Linked DNA regions of Homo sapiens: region 1 is linked to region 2. Evidence: promoter capture Hi-C in human tissues and cell types (Jung and others, 2019). All regions are on one chromosome and are shown on one strand. Each heading gives the region's core, a stretch centred on a gene start or on the middle of the fragment in contact. The rest is flanking DNA. Distances are from core to core; before and after follow the strand shown. Region 1 has its middle 53 kb from the start of LINC01931. Region 2 holds the start of RBM43 (RNA binding motif protein 43).

The links. Contacts are between HindIII fragments. The study calls those that stand out against the background at their distance.
Region 1: a fragment that was not itself captured here is called in contact with the fragment with the promoter of RBM43 in region 2 in 1 of the 25 tissues and cell types used here (dorsolateral prefrontal cortex).

Annotation. Positions count from the first base shown.
Region 1 is chr2:149,910,166-149,914,192 of GRCh38, reverse strand. No RefSeq gene overlaps it. Among named protein-coding and RNA genes, the nearest start is that of LINC01931, 53 kb to the right of the region's middle. The HindIII fragment of the contact is 4,284 bases long and covers 516-4,027 here.
Region 2 is chr2:151,260,102-151,264,219 of GRCh38, reverse strand. RBM43 (RNA binding motif protein 43) reads left to right here and starts at 2,357. Exons shown (of 4, transcript NM_198557.3): 1 at 2,357-2,495. The coding sequence starts at 2,493. RefSeq lists an enhancer at 2,274-2,503 and a silencer at 2,544-2,813. The HindIII fragment of the contact is 11,595 bases long and covers 1-4,118 here.

The sequences.
Region 1 (4,027 bases), core at 1,408-3,907, 1.4 Mb after region 2:
TGCATACAGGTCTTTGTGTGGATATATGTTTCCATTTCTCTTGGGTAAATACATAGAAGTGACATTTCTGGATTGAATGGTATAGATATTTTTAACTTTATTTGAAACTGCCAGACTGTTTTCCATGTGGTTATACTATTTTACAACCTCACCAGCAAAGTATAAAAGTTCCAGTTTCTCTGGATCCCTGTCAGCACTTGGTAATATGAATCTTTAATTTTGGCCAATCTAGTGGATGTAAACTGGTAATTCAATTTAGCTTTAATTTGCATTTTATTCATGACTAATAACATTAACAACTTTTCAAGTGGTTATTCACATTCTTATATCTTCTTCTGTGAAGCTAAATCTTTTGCACATTTTTTGTTTTGTTGTTATTTTACTTTAAGTTCTGGGATACATGTGCAGAATGTGCAGGTTTGTTACATAGGTATACATGTGCCAGGGTGGTTTGCTGCATCTATCAATGCATCATCTAGGTTTTAAGCCCCGCATGGATTAGGTATTTGTCCTAATGCTGTCCCTCCCTTGCCTCCCACCCGCTGACAGGCTCTGGTATGTGATTTTCCCCTCCCTGTGTCCATGTGTTCTCATTGTTCAACTCCCACTTATGAGTAAGAACATGCAGTGTTTGGTTTTCTGTTCCTGTGTTAGTTGGCTGAGAATGATAGCTTCCAGCTTCATCCATGTCCCAGCAAGGACATGAACCCATTCTTTTTTATGGCTGTGTAGTATTCCATTGTGTATATGTGCCACATTTTCTTTATCCAGTCTATCATTGGTGGGCATTTGGGTTGGTTCCATGTCTTTGCTGTTGTAAATAGTGCTGCAATAAACACACATGTGCATGTGTCTTTATAGTAGAATAATTTATAATCCTTTGGGTATATGACCACTAATGAGATTGCTGGGTCAAATGGTATTTCTGGTTGTAGAACCTTGAGGAATTGCCACACTGTCTTCTTCAATGGTTGAACTAATTTATACTACCACCAACAGTGTAAAAGCATTCTTATTTCTCCAATGCCTAGCCAGCATCTGTTGTTTCCTGACTTTTTAATAATCAGAATTCTCACTGGAATGAGATGGTATCTCATCATCAAAATCATTGGTTTTGATTTGCATTTCTCTAATGACCAGTGATCATGAGTTTTTTTCATATATTTGTTGGCCACATAAATGTCTTCTTTTGAGAAGTGTCTGTTCGTATCCTTCACCCACTTTTTGATGGGATTTTTTTTTTCTTGTAAATTTGTTGAAGTTCCTTGTGGATTCTGGATATTAGCCTTTTGTCAGATGGATAGATTGCAAAAATTTTCTCCCATTCTGTAGGTTACATGTTCACTCTGATAATTGTTTATTTTACTATGCAGAAGATCTTCAGTTTGATTAGATCCCATTTGTCAGTTGTTGCCATTGATTTTGGTGTTTTAGTCATGAAGTCTTTGCCCATGCCTATGTCCTGAATTGTATTGCCTAGGTTTTCTTCTAGGGTTTTTATGGTTTTAGTTCTTACATTTAAGTCTTTGATCCATCCTGAGTAATTTTTGTATAAGGTGTAAGGAAGGGGTCCAGTTTCAGTTTTCTGCACATGGCTAGCCAGTTTTCCCAACACCATTTATTAAACAGGGAATCCTTTCCCCATCACTTGTTTTTGTCAGGTTTGTCAAAGATCAGATGGTTGTAGATGTGTGGTGTTATTTCTGAGGATTCTGTTCTGTTACATTGCTCTGTATATCTGTTTTGGTACCAGTACCATGCTGTATTGGTTACTATATTGTTGTAGTATAGTTTTAAGTCAGGTAGTGTGATGCCTCCAGCTTTGTTCTTTTTGCTTAGGATTGTCTTGGCTATACAGGTTCTTTTTTGGTTCCACATGAAATTTAAAGTAGTTTTTTCTAATTCTGTGAAGAAAGTCACTGGTAGCTTGATTGGAATAGCATTGAATCTATAAATTATTTTGGGCAGTATGGCCATTTTTACAATATTGATTCTTCCTATCCATGAGCATGGAATGTTTTTCCATTTGTTTGTGTCCTCTTACTTCCTTGAGCAGTGGTTTGTAGCTCTCCTTGAAGAGATCCTTCATGTCCCTTGTAAGTTTTATTCCTAGGTATTTTATTCTCTTTGTAGCACATGTGAATGGGAGTTCACTTATGATTTGGCTCTCTGCTTGTCTATTATTGGTGTATAGGAATGCTTGTGATTTTTGCACATTAATTTTGTATCCTGAGACTTTGCTGAAGTTGCTCATCAGCCTAAGGAGTTTTTGGGCTGAAACAATGGTGTTTTCTAAATATAGAATCATGTTGTCTTCAAGCAGAGACAACTTGACTTTCTTCTTCCGATGTGAATACCCTTTATTTCTTTCTCTTGTCTGATTGCCCTGGCCAGAAATTCCAATATTGCATTGAATAGAAGTGGTGAGACAGGGCATACTTGTCTTGTGCTGGTTTTCAAAGGGAATGCTTCCAGCTTTTGCCCATTCAGTATGATACTGGCTATGGGTTTGTCATAAATAGCTCTTATGAGATATGTTCCATCAATACCTAGTTTATTGAGAGTTTGTAGCATGAAGGGATGTTGAATTTTATCGAAGGTCTTTTCTGCATCTATTGAGATAATCATGTGGTTTTTGTCATTGGTTCTGTTCATGTGATGGATTACGTTTATTGATTTGAATATGTTGAACCAGCCTTGCATCCCAGGGATGAAGCAGACTTGATTGTGGTGGATAAGCTTTTTGATGTGCTACTGGATTCAGTTTGCCAGTATTTTATTGAGGATTTTTGCATCAATGTTCATCTGGGATATTGGACTGAAATTTTCTTTTTTTATTATATCTCTGCCCGGTTTTGGTATCAGGATGATGCTGGTCTCATAAAATGAGTTAGGGAGGAGTCCCTCTTTTTCTATTGTTTGGGATAGTTTCAGAAGGAATGGTACCAGCTCCTCTTTGTACCTCTGGAAGAATTCAGCTGTGAATCCGTCTGGTCTTGGGCTTTTTTTGTTTGTTTTTGGTTGATAGGCTATTCTATTAATTACTGCCTCAATTTCAGAACATGTTTTTGGTCTATTCAGGGGTTCACCTTCCTCCTGGTTTAGTCTTTGCAGGGTGTATGTGTCCAGGAATTTATCCATTTCTCCTAGATTTTCTAGTTTATTTACATAGAGGTGTTTATAGTATTCTCTGATGGTAGTTCTTATTTCTGTGGGATCAGTGGTGATATCCCCTTTAACATTTTTATTGTGTCTTTTTGATTCTTCTCTCTTTTCCTCTTTTGCAGGTTTTTAATCGCATCATCTTCTTGAGTTGTAAATTTCTAAGGAAAGTTTTCCTGCACAATATAGATATTATTGTGTGTTTGCTAATATTTTCTGCAATTCTAGTTGTTTGCCTTTTCAAATTTCCTTGCAGTGTCTTTCAAGAGCTGAAGTTTTAATTTTGATGAAGTCCACATTATCTTTTTTCTTTAGTAGTTCATTCATTTCTTAGCATTTCTTGCTAAGGAATGTTTGCCTAACCAATATCACAAAATTTTTTGTGTGTATTTTTTTTAGGGAATTTTATTGTTTTAATTCTTATATGGTGGTCTCATTCGTTTTGAGTTTATTTTTATATATGATACCAGGTAAGAAGGGAGGTCGTAATTTTCCATACAAATGTCCAATTATTCTAGCACCATTTATTGAAAGACTATTCTTTTCCCTATTGAATCACTCTGAAACTTCTAGGTCTATTTTTAGAGTCATTATTCTGTTACATTGATCTACATACCTCTCCTACTGCCAATATTTCCTCATATATTTATCTTTTACTTAATTCCTATACTGTTTTTAATTCTCTTAAAGTATGCGGGTTTTTTTTTTGTTTTTTTGTTTTTTTGTTTTTTTGTTTTTGAGATTGGTGTCACTTCATTGCCCAGGCTGGTGTGCAACGGCGTGATCACAGCTCACTGCAATCTCAACCTCCCAGGCTCCTGTTATCCTCCCACCTCAGCTTCCCAAGTAGCTGGGACTACAGGCA
Region 2 (4,118 bases), core at 1,108-3,607:
TGAGGAGCTAGAGAGGATGGAGACTGGATGAGGATGGTAGGGATGCAGCTGGAAAGAGGGACTGATACTGGGTCCCTCTGGAAGGCCCATTGTTGGGGTATACTAAGAAGGATGAGGAAAAGAGAAATCAAGAACTGGGTCATGAGCTTGAGCTCATGGGTAGACAGTGCTGCCAATTCTTGAGAGGGAATTAAGAAGGGGAGAAGAAGGGTTCTCCTTGTTAAATTCAGATGCTTGTTTGACATTCAAGTAGGCACTTAGATATATAAAATCTGGAGATAAAATATAAATTGGGGAATTACATACAGATGTACCTCATTCTGTTTTTTTTTTTTTTTCTTGAGACAGAGTCTTGCTCTGGAGTTCTACTTGTTAAATTTCAGATGCTTGTTTGACATTCAAGTGGGCACTTAGATATATAAATCTGGAGATAAAATATAAATTGGGGAATTACATACAGATCTACCTCATGCTGTTTTTTTTTTTTTTCCTTCTTGAGATAGAGTCTTGTTCTCTCGCCCAGGCTGGAGTGCAGTGGTGTGATCTTGGCTCACTCTGCCTCCCGGGTTCAAGCGATTCTCTAGCCTCAGCCTCCCGAGTAGCTGAGATTACAGGTGTGTGCCACCACGCCCGGCTAATTTTTGTATTTTTAGTACAGACGGGTTTCACCATGTTGCTCAAGCTGGTCTTGAATTCCTGAGCTCAAAATGATCCGCCCACCTTGGCCTCCCAAAGTTCTGGGAATACAGGCGGGAGCCACTTCCCCCTACCTCATTCTGTTTTAAAATCTTCATAGCCTTGTGCCTTACTGATATATCATCAGCCGTATAACAAATAGCTCCATCCAATGATAAACTAGGTGGATCCCAGTTTATAAAAAAATTATTACTACCTGTATTTCAAGCAATGTACAACTAAAATTTCTATACAATATCTTAGTGCCATTTGCGCACTATAACTTCAAGTTCAGTTCTAAAAGTAGAATTGCTGAGACTAAGAATATGTGCATTTTACATTTTTTTGCACTTTACATTTTGATAAAAATCTTTAGAAGTATTTGCATCCATCTATGCTTGCAGCAACTCTGATGCTTACATTCAGGCTAACACTTTCTGGTTTTGCAGATCTAGTTGTGAAAAATGGTATCTTATTATTTCAATTTACATTTCTTAGGAGTGGGATTGGGTTTCTTCATATCTGCTAGCCATCTACCTTTGTTCTTCATGCATTCATTGATTTGATTTTGAAGTTTGTCCAGAGATTCCCTGTGTCCCCACAGGCGCCATTCGGGGTTCCTGTGCTAAGGCATGGACAAGGTGGTGAGCTCTCTGCTGGCAGGGACCTGGCGCTCTCATCCTGTGTCCTTAGCACCCGGCAGAGGTCCAAGAGGGCTCCTGGTCTGGGCTGGGAAGGTGACCAACACGGCGTTGGGGGTTGAGGTGGGGGTTGGGGAACTGGGGTAGGTTGTGCAGAGGAAAAGGCCCAGGTGAGCGGTGGGGGAAGGGGAAGAAGTCTGGACAGATAATAAGGGCGTAGGAAAGACATCCAGATTTCACTGAGTGCAGGGCTTTTTAAAACTGATGTTAGAAAAACTTGATTTGCTGTTGTAAAAAACCATCTGTGTGAAGTAGAAATTGATATCAATAACATGATAGAGAATACGTTCTAAAAAGTAAAGGTAGCTGGATGTAAAATTCTGGCAGAAGTTTAATATCCTAGATGGTTAGTTTGAGGCCAGCAACTAATGAGGATAAAAGCCTTCTCCATGGAAAATTTTGGACAGTTATCTGGAGAAATATTACAGTGCGCATCAACCAAATTGAAATGTTTTCAAAAGTGTTGTAAAGTTTCATGTAGTAAAAAGGTTTTAGCCACATGCCCTTCAATTTCATGGCATCGAATATATAAACACAGAAGAGAGCATGCATGCAAGATATTTAACTCCCTTACATGATAATGCATGCGATTCAAAACTATCATGACATCTAGGGCTCTCTGCAACTACGAGATGATTGATGTTAGGAAAAGCGTAGCCCCCCAGTATCAACACAGGAAGCGGCCACCACCTACTATGTGTTTTCCCTTTTTGCGTTTTTTCTTTTTTTAAATCAACTCTGCCGTTGTTGCTGCTGCTTAGCAAAACGGGTAAAAACAAAATTGCAATCACTGATGCATCACCCAGAGAATTCCCAAATTTCCTGTCGAGGAATCCTCTCGGCCTCTCTCCAGAGTGCTTCCACAAGTTGCAAAACTACGGAGGGCGTCTGGGCAGGCGCTGGCAACAGCACTCCTGAGTCCGAGCTCCCACTCAGAGGCCACGAGGTCGCAGAACAGCCGGATCGGGTGGAAGGACCGCCCTTTTCTTCGTAGCCTCCAAGGGAGCTGGAACAAAAAACGAAACCAAAACCTGCCTGCTCGCTCCTCTCCCCATCGCCTGCGTTCCGCTGGTTGTGGGCTTTCTGCGGCCGCTGAGGGCGCGTCTCCCCTCCGCCATGGCAAGTTGCTTTTGCTTTGGGTTTTGCGGTGCAGGTCCGTGCCTGTACCGTCGCCATGGTCCCCTAGAAGGGCGCGGAACCGGGCGCGACGGGCCAGGGTGCAGGGCTGCGCGGGAGGGGGCGGCGCACGGAGGGGCCCCAGGGACCCCGGGGGCCCCGGAGAGCCGTCCACCCCGGCGGGCAAACTCAGGTCAGCCTCGCTGCACCCTTCCCAGGTGGCGGCATTGCGCGCTCCTGAAATTCACGTACGGCGGTGCAGTATAGGCCCGCTCCAGAGGCTCAGGACTAGGCTGTCACCTCCCACACCCACTGCCCAGGCGACGGGGACGCCGCCGTTCGTCGAGGAGCTGCTTCGCAGGCTGTTAGGGCTTAACTGTTGTCCTCCCACGCCTCGGGGGGAACAAAAGTGGCCTGATTAGCCAGAAATGGAGGTCACAGCTGCCTTTTGAAAAGGGCTAATAAGAACGATTCGAGCCAAGGACGCAAGTCAGGAAGACATCCTCATGTCTTATGTCTGCCTTGGTGCGAATTCTTGTCTTAGCAAATTCAAAATTTATCCTTCTGTGTTTTGTTTTGTTTCCATCAATCGCTTAAAAGCCTTGGCAAGGCCTTTAATTCCTGCTCTGAAATGCTAGAGTCCCGGAAATGCAAAAGCAAGTACGTTTTTGTTGACCTGGTGGCGGTAGAGGCGTCGTCATTGAAAATAAACAACTGATTTTGAGAAAATCAATATAAACAAATGCAGTCAATGAATCTTCTGTTTCTTCCCAATGCCTTACTTACAAAAGTAAAGTTTTGCTATATACTTTTTGCTTTCTGATAAGATGGCCAAGTCTGTTATAACACAATACTGATGCAAGGAAATGCGCCATCACGTTAGTATGTCTTGGCTAAAAGCTGCTCGTTTCAAAGTCCTTGAAAGGACTGTCTTTCTCTAGGCATTTCTTTATCTTAATCGTGGGTAGAAGAGATGAACAACCCTCATTATTCATAATTGACCTCAGTAAAATTATCTATGTTAGCCATACTTTCTCCAACCTATGAAAGGGAGTTAAGGACAAATATTGGCAAGTCATTGAAGTACTAATTCATTAGATGATTCATAGAAACTAGTTCTTACCAAACAAAATTTACATCTTTATGTTTTTTTCTTCTAAAAATACTGGTTCAGGGAGAAGTTTCTTTGATTTTAAAGATAAATTACCAGTAGACATTCGAATAAAGAAATATGGTATTAGTACTAATGAGGGCATAGAGCTGAAGTAAGATTTCCTGAGTTTAAATTGATTGCATGTTTTTCTTTGATATTGTTGGGGTGCAGAAAATGATCTCCCTGCCCGGCACGGTGGCTCACGCCTGTAATCCCAGCACTTTGGGAGGCGAAGGAGGGCGGATCACTTGAGGTCAGGAGTCTCTACTAAAAATACAAAAATTAGCTGGGCGTGATGGCATCCACCTGTAGTCTCAGCTACTGGGGAGGCTGAGGTGGGAGGATCACTTGAGCCCAGGAGGCGGAGGTTGCAGGGAGCCAAGATCACGCCATTGTTCTCCAGCCTGGGCAACAGAGCGAGGCGCTGTCTAAAAAAAAAAAAAGACTTCGAGAGGCCGAGGGGGGAGCGGATC